Regions from separate parts of the Homo sapiens genome. Here all the other regions are linked to region 1. The links are contacts of gene promoters, found by promoter capture Hi-C in blood cells and fetal thymus (Javierre and others, 2016). All regions are on one chromosome and are shown on one strand. The core of a region is centred on a gene start or on the middle of the fragment in contact, and the rest is flanking DNA. Distances in the headings are between cores, read along the strand shown.

Region 1 (3,191 bases), core at 261-2,760:
TTCACCTACTCATTTTGTAGCACTAGTAAGAGAATGGAGCCTAAGACACAATGGCTTGAATCATGCTCAATCAGTGCACCAAGAGAAACTCCACTCACCGCAGAGTATTCTAGATTGGCGTTGTGATTGGCTAAGTGGTTTAGTATGTCTGCAGCAGGCACCATCACGGGGGAGTTGGGCTCCTTTTCATCCTCTTCTTCCTCCAGTGGTTCCTGAAAGCTGCCATTGACAGAACCTGGCTAAGGCCCTGTCTTGGGTGAGGGACTGGGGGTGGATTTCACTGTTTTTCCACTTTTGTCCCTCTATAGAGTTGTAAAGAAAAGGGTTCCGTCCTCAGAGGCCCCACCCACTGACCTATAGGCCATCACAAGGGCCACCAGCTGGTGGTAGAGTTCTAGGGAGCGAACCCTGAGGCTGAAGAGATCGGGGTGGGCTTCCATGAAGGGCAGCACGATGGACTGGTACTCGCTGCGGATGTTGGCCAAATCCTTCTCCACGGCCTCAGGTACGCCTGTGCCCTGGAGCAGGCACCGGCGCTCCTCCTCTGGCCTGCAGGGACACCCACACCCAGGTTCCCTTCATTCCTTCACACACTTTACTGGGTAGGACTGGTGCAGGGGCGGGGAAACTTCTTGCAGCAGGCTACGGTGCAGGCGCTCCCCAACCCCTCCCAAGGCTCTCACCAGAACATCGGGTGCTCCAAGCGGCCCAGCTCGGGCCAGAGCGCAAAGTAGGGCCTCCAGCGTGAGGCCGGGGCCTGCAGCTCGTGGAGCAGCGCCAGCAGCAGTGGCACCCAGCCCGACTGGCTCTGCAGCGCAACTCGCTCTGAGGAAGACACAGGTGTGAGCGCCCCGGCGCGGCCTCGCGGGCCGGGCCCGCCCCGCCCCGCCCCGCCCCGCCCCAGGGCCCTAGCCCGCCGCCGTGCCCACCTCGCTCCAGCAGGCCGCCGATGGAGCAGGTGTGCTGCGACAGGAGCGCGGCCCGCGGCACCACGAACAACAGCTCTCCGGCCTGCACGCTCTCCCGGGCCACCATGCCGTAGCCGGCCACCGTGCCCTGCCGGCTGACCGCCACCTGAGCAGGAGGGCTGGTCAGGGCAGCCCGCGCCCCGCCGCGGGTCCTCCGCCCGCCGGCTCGCTCGCTCACCTTGGGACTCAGCTCCAGCCCCACCCGCCGGCACCAGCTCAGGAAGCAGGCCACAGGATCCAGGTCGCCGCCGTCCACGGGCCCCGCCACCTGAGATAAGTGCGCGCAGTGACCAGGTCCGACCCCCAGAGAGGCCGCTGGGAACTGCAGGAGACCGCGGCGCGAGCGCAGAACGGGCTTTGGGTGGAGGAGGGGACGAGCGGAGAGGGGCGCGGGACCCGCGGGAGGGAGCGGAGGGGGCGCAGGCGGACGGTTCTGCGAACGGAGAAGGGGTGAGGCGCGGAGGAAAAGGCTGGACCCCGCGCCCGCCACTCACCCGTGGACGCTTCGCCTGGGTCGCCATGGTCTAAGAGCGCGTTTCCTCGCGGGCCGGCGCACCGCGCGGTCACTTCCGGCGTCTCTGGCCCCGCCCCGGCGCCGGAACCACGTGGTGCCTGTTTTGTCGTCCACGCTGCAGACTGGCCGGAGTTACCGCGGGCTGGAATCGTTCCTCATGAAAACATCTTGAGTCCAGGATCTCCAATTGCACTCACGCGCTGCGAGTGCAGAAGGAGAGTCCCGTGCCGCTTGGCGCCTGGTTCTGAGCCAGGTACAGCCCTGGCCTTCGGTCTGTCCCCGAGGGCTGAGGCTTCTTGCGGTCTGGGTGCAAGAACAAAATACGGTTTCTGGATCGGAAGCCGAGGGTCTGGTGGCCGGCCGGTGGTGAGCGACGCAACTGGGCGGCGAGCGACCTCCTGATCTCGACCCCTTGTTGCCGATGGCCATGGAACCCTTTTACTGGTGGTATTCGTTCAGAGCAGTTTTCGTGTGTGTTTCAGAGTGGCGTGGCCTAGAGGGCTCCTGGATCTAGAATAGATCCTCTCTGCCCTTATTTGCCAGTACATCCTCGTTTTTAATCTGCTGCATAGCACGTGGTGGGTTTTATTAGCTGACATAGTAGGGACTCAATATCTACCTATTGGGTAAATAAATGAATAAAACAAATGGTGGTTAAACCTGGGGAAGTAGCATGCTGTTAAATGTAAGAAAATGAGGCTGTGAATATAGAGGTTACAGGAATGGGTTTTGAAGCCAAGCAACGCCGCAGCTCAACACTCAGTTTTTTTTTTTTTTCCTTTTTTTTTTTTTTTTTTTTGGCGCGTTGGGGAGACGGGAGTCTCGCCCAGGCTGGAGTGCAGTGGTGCGATCTCGGCTCACTGCAACCTCCACCTCCCGGGTTCAAGCAATTCCCCTGCCTCAGCCTCCCAAGTAGCTGGGACTACAGGCGTACGCTGCCATGCCCAGCTAATTTTTTGTGTTTATTTTTAGTAGAGTCGGGGTTTCACCGCGTTGCCCAGGCTGGTCTCGAACTCCTGAGCTCAGGCAATCCCCCCGCCTCGGCCTCCCAGAGTGCTAGGATTACAGGCGTGAGCCACCGCGCGCGGCCTGGTCTGTTACTCAGGCAAATCCTTTTTCCTGAACCTTAGTCTCCTCACCTGCGAAACTAAGATAATACCTACTCTGTAGAATTAATGTAAGGATTGGTATGTTGACTAAAGAAAAAATATTAAGCTTTTAAATAATTAAAATTAGTTTTATTTAGAAGCCTTATTGAGGACTATAGACTGAGGCCTGTAGCCCAGGAGTAATCTTGTGAGGCTCCTCTAACACGGTATTTTAGTTTAGGTTATACATAGGTGAAGATTTAGTATGTGTAAAATCATATCAAAGTTTAGGGATAAGTATATCTGGTTATAGATTGCAGAGTATAATCATTAACCCTGTCAGACATGATCGTATGTTTAGGAGAAGGCAAAGAGTAGGTCATTTATCTTTGAAGGAATGTAGTGACTCAGGCAAGAGATTTGGAGGGCAGGGGTGTTTTGTTTTGTCTTTAAGGCATTTTTTTCTGGAGAGCTGTATTTTGTTTTTTTGTTTTATTTTGAGGCAGAGTCTTGCTCTGTCATCCAGGCTGGAGTGCAGTGGCACGATCTCCACTCACTACCACCTCTGCCTCCTAGGTTCAAGCGATTCTCCTGCCTCAGCCTCCCGAGTAGCTGGTATTA
Region 2 (3,191 bases), core at 234-2,733, 240 kb before region 1:
AGAGGCCGTATTTGCTCATTTCTGTTTGAACCCCCGACTCTGATAAAATACAGCTCTCAGGAAGAATGTCTTGAAGTCAGAAGAGGACAGAGCGCACAGCCTCCCACATCCCTCGCCTGAGTCAATACATTCCTTAAAAGGATCAATTGAGGCCAGGTGCAGTAGCTCATGCCTGTAATCCCAATACTTTGGGAGGCCAAGTCAGGAGAATTGTGGGACCAGGAGTTAGAGATCAGCCTGGGCAACATGGCAAGACCCATTCTCAAAAAAAATTTTTTTTTTAAGGTAAATGATCCTTGCCTTGCCTTTTCTTACACTTAAGATAACGTCCAGTAGAGTTAGTGGTTATGCTTCTGTAAGCTACAACCAGTTTTTTTTGTTGTTTTGTTTTGTTTGTTTTTTGAGACGGAGTGCTCTGTCGCCAGGCTGGAGTGCAGTCTTGGCTCACTGCAACCTCTGCCTCCAGGGTTCAAGCGATTCTCCTGCCTCAGCTTCCCAAGTAGCTGGGACTACAGGAGTGCACCACCACATCCAGCTAATGTTTGTATTTTTAGTAGAGATGGGGTTTTGCCATGTTGGCCAGGCTGGTCTCAAACTCCTGACCTCAGGTGATCCACCTGCCTCGACCTCCTAAAGTGCTGGAATTACAGGCATGGGCCACTGTGCCTGGCCTGGATGTGATTTTACACATACTGAACCTCTGCCACCTGTGTACGAGCAGTAGGCACTTCCGGAACAGTCTGATAGGACATCTCTAACAGGCCACTCCCAGGCTGTAGGCTTCGGTTTCTAGCCCTCAGTAAGACTTCTAAATAAAACTATCTTTAATTCTTTAAAAGCTTGATGTTTTTCCTTTAACACCAGCATGATTTAAACAGAACTATTTGAAGGAATTAAGTGCTGTGAATTTGTATACTGGTTTGTTTCTCCAAATTGTGGTTAGGAGGGCAGAGCACAAATCCTAACTATTGGCCAGGTGCAGTGGCTCACGCCTGTAATCCCAGCACTTTGGAAAGGAGAGGGATCACTTGTGCCCAGGAGTTCGAGGCCAGCCTGGGCAACATGGCAAAACCTCGTCTCTACCAAAATACAAAAATTAGCCAGTTTCCTAACCCAATCCTCTAAATAAATAAACATTTAAAAATAAAACTAAAAAAAAAAAAAAAATCCTTACTATTGAGCACAGAGAATCTCTCCCCAGTAAAGCCTGAAGTCTTGACTTTGAAGTCAATGACTGCACCCCTCTCCCTGCTCTCCATACTCTGCAAGCTCAGGCCTGGGGTTTGTCTGAATCCCCTCAGTGAGCCATGATCGTGCCACTGCTCTCCAGCCTGGGTGACAGAGCAAGACCCCTGTTTCAAAAAAAAAAAAAAAAAAAAAAAAAAGAAGGCCGGATGTGGTGGCTCACGCCTGTAATCCCAGCACTTTCAGAGGCCAAGGTGGGTGGATTGCCTAAGGTCAGGAGTTCGACACCAGCCTGGCCAAGATGGTGAAACCCATCTCCACTAAAAATACAAAAGTGAGCCAGGCATGTTGGCAGGCACCTAGAATCCCAGCTGCTCGGGAGGCTGAGGCAGCAGAATCTCTTGAACCTGGGAGGCAGAGGTTGCAGTGAGCCAAGATCGTGCCACCGTGCACTCCAGTCTGAGCAACAGAGCAAGACTCCATCTCAAATAAATATTTTAAGAAATAAAAAATAAAAATACATAAGCAGCCAGGCATTGTAGTTCACATCTGTAATCCCAGCACTTTCAAAGGCCAAGGTTGGTGGATTGCTTGAGCTCAGAAGTTCAAGACTAGCCTGGCCAACATGGCAAAATCCTATCTTTACGAAAAAATACTAAAACTAGCTGGGTGTGGTGATGTACGCCTGAAGTCCCAGCTACTCAGAAGGCTGAGGTCAACAGCCAGCTTGAGCCCCGGAGATCAAGGCTGCAATGAGCCTTGTTTGCACCACTGCACTCCCACCTGGGCAACAAAGTGAGACCCGCCCCCGTCTCGAAAAACACAGCACAGTCACTCCCCTCACCCTACAACACCATGCTGACTCACGACCTGCAATTTCACAAGTTCTCAAGGTGATGTGCAACATGAGAAGCACTGCTCCAACTAACCTCTAAAAGCTTTTTCAAATTTATAGAATTCTATACTACACAATTTCAACACGATTGGGGTGGGAGCGGTAGGGCGCAGGTAATCGCAGCACTTTGTGAGGCTGAGGCGGCGCGGATTACGAGGTCAGTATTTTGAGACGAGCCTAGCCAACATGGTGAAACCTCACCTCGACTAAAGATACAAAAAATTACCCGGGCGTGGTGGGTGCCTGTAGTCCCAGGTATTCGGGAGTCTGAGGCAGGAGAACCACTTGAACCCAACGTATTCGGAATTGGTAGGTTCTTGGTCTCACGGACTTCAAGAATGAAGCCGCGGGCCCTCGCGGTGAGTATCACAGTTCTTAAAGGTGGCGTGTCTGAAACTTGTTCCTTCTGATGTTCGGAGTTTTTTCCTTCTGATGGGTTCATGGTCTCGCTGACTCAGGAGTCAAGCTGCACACCTTCCTAACGAGTATTACAGCTCTTAAAGCGGTGCGTCTGGAGTTGTTCGTTCTTCCCGGTGGGTTTGTGGTCTCGATGATTTCAGGAGCGAAACTGCAAACCTTTGCTGTGTTACAGCTCAAAAAGACAGTGCAAACCCAAACAGCAAAACAACATAAGCCGCGACAGTGTGGAAGGACGCCGAAACATGTTACCACCGCAACCTCAGGCAGCCTGCTTTTATTCTTATCTGGCCCCACCCACATCCTGCTGATTGGTCCATTTTACAGAGAGCCAATTGGTCTGTTTCACTGAGAGCTGATTGGTCCGTTTTGACAGGATGCTGATTGGTGCATTTACAATCCCTGAGCTAGACACAAAAGTGCTCCACCTCCCCACTAGATTAGCTAGATAAGAGTGTTGATTGGTGTATTTACAAACCCTGAGCTAGACACAGGGTGCTGATTGGTGTGTTTAGGAACCTTGAGCTAGATACAGAGTGCTGATTGGTGTATTTACGATCCCTTAGCTAGACATAAAGGTTCTCCAAATGCCCACTAGACTCCGGAGCCCAGCTGGCTTCATCCAGTGGATCCCGCACCACGGCCGCAGGTGGAGCTGCCTGCCAGTCCCCCACCGTGTGCCGGCACCCCTCAG
Region 3 (3,191 bases), core at 410-2,909, 220 kb after region 1:
CTCGGCCTCCCAAAGTGCTGGGATTACAGGTGAGAGCCACCGTGCCCGGCTGGATACGGGTATTAAGCAAAGAACAACTGAATGAGAAACACATTCTGGGCCACCACGTTCTCACCTGGAAAGCTCAGGAAATGCCTTTGTCCTGCCAGGGTGACTGGGGATTGTGAGGGAGGAAACATATGGTAATGAAAGCTCTTTGAGGGCCGGGTGCAGTGGCTCATATCTATATAATGGCTAATGCTTTGGGAGGTTTAGGTGGGAGGATCACTTGAGCCCAAGAGTTCGAGACCAGCGTGGGCAACACAGTGAGACCCCATCTCTTCAAAAAAATATAATATGAAAAATTAGCCAGACTTGGTGGCACAGGCCTGTAGTTCCAGCTACTTGGGAGGCTGAGGCTGGAGGATCACTTGAGCCCAGGAGTTCGAGGCTGCAGTGAGCTGTGATTGCACCACTGTACTCTAGCCTGGACAACAGAGCAAGAACTTGTCTCTAAAAACAATAAAAAATAAAAATTTAAAATACAGCTTTTTGATACCTGTGATGTGGAACAAATTAAAGAATCAACTCGCACTTCTCCCACTGCCAAAAATTTTCTGTTCTTGTAGCAGAAGCCAATACCCCCGCCCCCCTGCCCAGGGTTAAAGGTGAGGGAGGGTGGTGAAGCCGGCAGGACATCAGGGGAACCATGGGGGAAGGAGGTAGCGGCTCCCTTTGGACTCAGGCCTCACTTTATTATTATTATTATTATTTTGAGACAGGCTGTCACTCTGTCGCCCAAGCTGTAGTGCAGTGGTGCGATCTCAGCTCACTGCAACCTCCACCTCAGCTTCCCGAGTACCTGGGACTATAGGTGTGTGCCACCACGCCTGGCTAAATTTTTGTATTTTTGGTAAAAGACAGGGTCTCACCATGTTACCCAGTCTGGCCTCAAACTCCTGAGCTCAAGCAATTTGCCTGCCTCGGCTTCGCAAAGTGCTGGGATTATAGGCGTGAGCCACCGTGCCCAGCCAGTTTCCACTTTCTCACCAGCCTTCCTGCCTTCCATCAGCCATTCATCTACCCATCCAGTAAGGATCTTCTGAGCGTCTGCACCAGAGGCCTGTGCGCCCACCCTCCCCCTGTGGCTCCGTGGAATTAACATCTTACCTCAACCTTGTCGACACTTCTCGAGTCCTGGCATTTGGGCTGAAACCAAAGCTGCTCACAGTGGCTGGAGTGGCAGATCCCATCTGGGCCTCTGGTTTGGCAGAGCTGGTCTGGTAGCTTAGATTGGACCCGGAAACTGAGAGGCTAAAGAAAACTGGGCTAAGTCTGAAAGAAACCACCCTGGGAGTGTAAGATGCTGACGGGGACTGGAAATTCCAAACCCACCCCAGTTGTGGGCTTCCTCAGTCCAGTCTGACAAGCATGTGTGGACACAGGGCGGGCGCTGAGTGGGGTAGACAGACCGTGGCCACGACCAGAGAAGACTTTGTAATCCAGCAAAAAGCTTGCCTTCTCAGACTAGGAGAGAGCCTGGCTTCCAGAAGAGCCCTGCCAAGGCTAAGCAACAAGGAGGCCTTTCATCCTAGCTCCTCGTAAGTCCCCATGTCCAGACAGTTGCTTGGTGGTGCCATGGTAACCGTGATGCCACAATGGAACATTCTTCCCAAGGCAGTAGAAGAAATCCTTCTGTTGAACTCTACTGTGTCAGGCCAGCCTGAGTTCATTTCTCCTTGAGCAGGAACAGTTCATGGACGAACTCTGAGGACCATTCTGAGGACAAGAGGCATCCAGTGTCATGAGTGGAACATGGTGACTTAGAACTGTGCACATGGGTTCCTTGGGCTTCTGTGCATTGCTTGACAGCTGTGTGACCTTGGACTGGCTAGTTGATGTCTCTGAGTATCAGTTTCTGAATCTGTAAAATGGCGATAACTCGAGTGTCTACTTCCTACCGCGGTTTTGCAAATGAACTAAGCTAAATGCTGGGGCTGTTCCTATGTAAAGATACAGGCTATTGGCCGGGCACGGTGGCTCACGCTGGTAATCCCAGCACTTTGGGAGACTGAGGCGGGTGGATCACCTGAGGTCAGGAGTTCGAGACCAGCCTGGCCAACGTGACGAAACCCCATCTGTACTAAAAATACAAATATTACAAAATATTACAAAATAATACAAAAATTAGCTGGGCGTGGTGGCGCACATCTGTAGTCCCAGCTACTCAGGAAGCTGAGGCAGGAAAATCGCTTGAACCTGGGAGGCAGAGGTTGCAGTGAGCCAAGCTCGTGCCACTGCACTCCAGCCTGCCAAGGGAGCGAGACTCAGTCTCAAAAAAAATAAAATAAAATAAAAAACAAAAAAACAGGCTGTTAACAGTTAACAGAAGCCCTAGCGTTCTTTTAGCCAGCAGAGTTTAGAAGGGTAAAACCACAGCAGAGGCATTAATCCCAGGGTGGGCTTCCACTAAAACTCTACTTTTCTTTCAGCAGCATTTTATGGCTACAGAGTTAAGGCAAGGGTTGAATTCCACGAGTCAAAAAGCAGCCCTTTTCAGAGACCCAACTCTCTGGGGTGCTCAGGGGCTTGGGCTGGATTGAGAAGAAAACTGACAAGAGTAAGCTGCCCTCTCTTCTCTGGCCATCTCACAAACCACAGTGCGGGCCAACTGGTCCTGCCTCTTTACCACACAGAACCAAGCACTAGGGATAAGACAGGTCAGTGCCCTACATCTTGGAACCTTTGTTAGTAGAAAGAGGGGGAGCCTCTGATGTTTGGGAGGGAACATGTGTGTTTGGGAAGAGGATGGAAAAAAGAGGCATAGAAAACCCTGCATGTGTTTGGGAAGAGGATGGAGTCATTGGGTTTTGTTTCCCCAGCTGCCCATGGTGTCCGCGGCGGGTCTCTCTGGGGATGGCAAGATGCGAGGGGTGCTCCTGGTGCTGCTCGGCCTTCTCTATTCTTCCACCAGTGAGTGTGCTGCTTTCCTCCCTCTGACTTTAGCTGCACACGTGGCACAGAAGGGGATCATCCGGGAAGATGAAGTGGTCCTTAATGTCCAAGGAGGGGCTCAGGGAAGATGACTCACGGCACTTTGCACCGGGCGGCCTGCATTGGTGGCAGGAACCAGGCAAAGAAGTGAATCATGGGACGTGGATGGAGGAAACTAAAGTCAGGGCCAATCCTTAGGGTGGGAGTGTGGTTAGGAA
Region 4 (3,191 bases), core at 263-2,762, 200 kb before region 1:
TCCTAAAGTTCTGGGATTACAGGCATGAGCCACCGCACCCAGCCTCTCAGTGTCTTTTTATATCTTTTATATAATTCACCCCTTTTTCATATTGAGGAGGAATTTTTGTGTTCTGAAAGTTTCCCGTGTAACATGAAATGATACTGACAGGCCATAAAGAATGAGCTTCTGAAGTATGAAAGGTCCTGGACAAAGCAGTGGCCCTGGGTCTGGGCCTGTATAGAGAGTGTTGCACATCACTGACCGTGGGTATCTCTCCTTCAGTTTGTCACTGTGCAGACCATTTCTGGAACTGGAGCCTTAAGGATCGGAGCCAGTTTTCTGGTGAGTCTGGAAGCTTCTTCAGGAAAGAATTATAAATTCCAGATGACAGGGCTTCCTGTTGTGTGTGTATTTGACTGTTGATGCAGAAGTAGATTTCTTCTTTCCGTGAAGTTTGCAGATGTCCTATTCTCATGAAAAAATGAAAGGACTTTGAAGAAATTACAGGAAAGATATATTAGTGATGATGATAAATTCAGTTCACTAGGAACTTACTATTTACTAGGGAGCTTTTGCATTTTAACTTGTTTAATCCCTATGAGAGAGGTACAATTAACCCCCTTTACAAGTGAAGAAAGCAAGACCCAGAAAGGTCCTTGGCTACATGGCCAGTATAACTGTCAGAGACTATTCCAACCCAGGCAGTCTTACTGCTGAGTCAATACTGCTTCTCAACCATAGAGAGAAACTGGGTTTCAGCAGAGAAAAATGTTCTCTCAATAAAACACATCAACATTTTTTTGCCTCTCCTTTGTTCATTTTTCTGTTTCCTTTCGTCCCATCTTTTAGCAAAGATTTTTTAAGTTCAGCCGAGATGTCTTTCTGCCCAAACCAACCTGGGGAAACCACACACCCATCTTCAGGGATGCTGGCATGCAGCTACAAGGTTATCGGTATTATGACCCCAAGACTTGCGGTTTTGACTTCACAGGCGCTGTGGAGGATATTTCAGTAAGTGTGGCTTTCAGGGTGAGAGAGGTGAATAAAACTCCTTGCTTGCGGACATTTGATGTCTCCCACCATGTCCCAATATCTGAGTTAAAATACTGGGGAAGAGCTGATTCCCAGGGTTCTGGTTACCTTTGTTACTTATCAAATGATGACGATCCTGTGGCATTTCAGATAAACCATTTCCTTTAAAGCTGCAAAGTCGTCTCTTGGCTGTTTTTCTCTTTAGAAAATACCAGAGCAGAGTGTTCTTCTTCTGCATGCCTGCGCCCACAATCCCACGGGAGTGGACCCGCGTCCGGAACAGTGGAAGGAAATAGCAACAGTGGTGAAGGTGAGGACGATGAACTCACTGGCGACAGTTCTGTGTTTAGTAACCAGCTTTGGAGGCTTAATTTGGCAATGTCTCAACAGAGAGTCTTAACCTCGAACCTGCGTGAAATGTCCACACAGGTGGATAAGCTGCCAGAAAAGGGCTCCCCATTTGCGTGATTAGCAGTTCTGGGATTGATGACGCATGAGTATTTGAAAGTAATTTTTTTTGGCTGGGCGCGGTGGCTCACGCCTGTAATCCCAGCACTTTGGGAGGTCGAGGCAGGTGGATCACCTGAGGTCAGTTCGAGACCAGCCTGGCCAACATGGTGAAACCCCGTCTCTACTAAAACTACAAAATTAGCTGGGCGTAGTGGCCCATGCCTGTAATCCTAGCTACTTGGGAGGCTGAGGCAGGAGAATCACTTGAACCCAGGAGGTGGAGATTGTGGTGAGCCGAGATTGTGCCACTGCACTCCAGCCTGGGCAACAAGAGCAAAACTCTGTCTCTAAAAAAGAAAAAAAGAAAATAATTTTTTTCCTCATCCTGGATGTAGGGAACTCTGATAAAACCTGTCCACTGGCCCCAGGATGTCTGCTGTTGATGCCTATATTCGCCCTGGTCAGTGGTTGCTTATTGATCTTTTTAAACACTTTTTCATGTCCTCTCCTTTGCAGCATTGCCATGATCACTCTCAAAGTGTAGCCAGCTGTCAGAGAAGACACTAGTCAAAATTCCTAGGGAGGAAAATGTTATTCCTGTTGTCTCATGTCCCTGTTTTCCCTTTTCACTCCTTTTCATTTCCCTTTCTTTTCTCTCTCTCTCTTTTTTTTTCTTTTGAGACAGAGTCTCACTCTGTCGCCTTAAGCCAGAACGCAGTGGCACAGTCACAGCTCACAGCAGCCTCTACCTCCAGGGCTCAAACAATCCTCCTACCTCAGCCCCTGAGTAGCTGGGACTACAGACATGTGTGCCACACCTGCCTGGCTAATTCTTCCTATTTTTCACAGAGACAGCATCTCACTTTGTTGCCCAGGCTGATCTCAAACTCCTGGGCTCAAGTGATCCTCCCACCTTGGCCTCCCAAAGTGCTGGGATTATAGACATGGGCCACCATGCCTGGCCAGTTTCCCTTTCTTTAACTTCTGTCAAATCTAAGCTGCAAACAGAATGAGACAGAAACAGCATTTGGAGAGCACTTTCAAGATAAAATGGTTCTAATGATGTTGTCTCGTGAGTCCTGGGTATAAGTTGAGTCTTCCAGGATTACGTTAGCCCCAGAAAAGGCTTATTGTGCTTATTGGGACCATGCCCACCTCACATAAACATCTTTCAGACTTTTATAAACATCTGGGGCCTCTTCAGAAAGACTGCTAAAGCTTCGATCTTTCGTTCCTTCTCAGAAAAGGAATCTCTTTGCGTTCTTTGACATGGCCTACCAAGGCTTTGCCAGTGGTGATGGTGATAAGGATGCCTGGGCTGTGCGCCACTTCATCGAACAGGGCATTAATGTTTGCCTCTGCCAATCATATGCCAAGAACATGGGCTTATATGGTAAGCTACAGCATCCAGCATGACACATGCTCTCATGCTGGGAGAGAATGCCACGAGGGCATAGAGCTTGTGGGTGTGTGTGTGTGTGTGTGTGTGTGTGTGTCCATCCATGTCCATGTCCCTCCCTACCCTAAGATGAAAGACCAGTATCGTAGATTTTACTGATTTTCTTAGCCATATATTCTTCGGTGTCCTTAAGTTTTTCCAGCAAAGGAAACTGATTACTGCTTCTCTAAACAAAAAGTAACAAATCCGTGAGCCAAGAAGATAGATACAATAAAAAATACCTTTGAATACTCTGAGTACTCAAAACTTCCTTGTGCCTCAGTTCACC

What was found. Contacts are between HindIII fragments. The CHiCAGO score rates a contact against its expected background, and 5 or more counts as called.
Region 2: a fragment that was not itself captured here is called in contact with the fragment with the promoter of SETD6 in region 1 in 1 of 17 cell types (total CD4 T cells); the score reaches 6.3 in total CD4 T cells.
Region 3: a contact is called between the fragment with the promoter of PRSS54 here and the fragment with the promoter of SETD6 in region 1, in 2 of 17 cell types (M0 macrophages and M2 macrophages). The highest score is 6.4, in M0 macrophages.
Region 4: a contact is called between a fragment that was not itself captured here and the fragment with the promoter of SETD6 in region 1, in 2 of 17 cell types (M2 macrophages and total CD4 T cells). The highest score is 6.4, in M2 macrophages.

What each region holds. Positions count from the first base shown.
Region 1 is chr16:58,513,836-58,517,026 of GRCh38, reverse strand. It overlaps SETD6 (SET domain containing 6, protein lysine methyltransferase), which reads right to left and starts at 1,510. Exons shown (of 8, transcript NM_001160305.4): 1 at 1,463-1,510; 2 at 930-1,236; 3 at 684-825; 4 at 355-549; 5 at 99-219. The coding sequence starts at 1,489. It also overlaps a transcript of NDRG4 not described here. RefSeq lists enhancers at 456-625, 1,666-1,835 and a silencer at 886-1,545. The HindIII fragment of the contact is 14,988 bases long and covers 1-2,699 here.
Region 2 is chr16:58,749,229-58,752,419 of GRCh38, reverse strand. LOC107984867 (a long non-coding RNA gene) reads right to left here and starts at 2,750. Exons shown (of 3, transcript XR_001752227.2): 1 at 2,307-2,750. The HindIII fragment of the contact is 1,284 bases long and covers 842-2,125 here.
Region 3 is chr16:58,293,493-58,296,683 of GRCh38, reverse strand. It overlaps PRSS54 (serine protease 54), which reads left to right and starts at 1,659. Exons shown (of 7, transcript NM_001305173.2): 1 at 1,659-1,797; 2 at 2,475-2,699; 3 at 2,862-2,952. The coding sequence starts at 2,868. The HindIII fragment of the contact is 4,073 bases long and covers 1,495-3,191 here.
Region 4 is chr16:58,716,329-58,719,519 of GRCh38, reverse strand. It overlaps GOT2 (glutamic-oxaloacetic transaminase 2), which reads left to right. Exons shown (of 10, transcript NM_002080.4): 4 at 265-324; 5 at 832-993; 6 at 1,220-1,324; 7 at 2,707-2,857. Among named protein-coding and RNA genes, the nearest start is that of GOT2, 16 kb to the left of the region's middle. RefSeq lists an enhancer at 266-1,465. The HindIII fragment of the contact is 2,345 bases long and covers 340-2,684 here.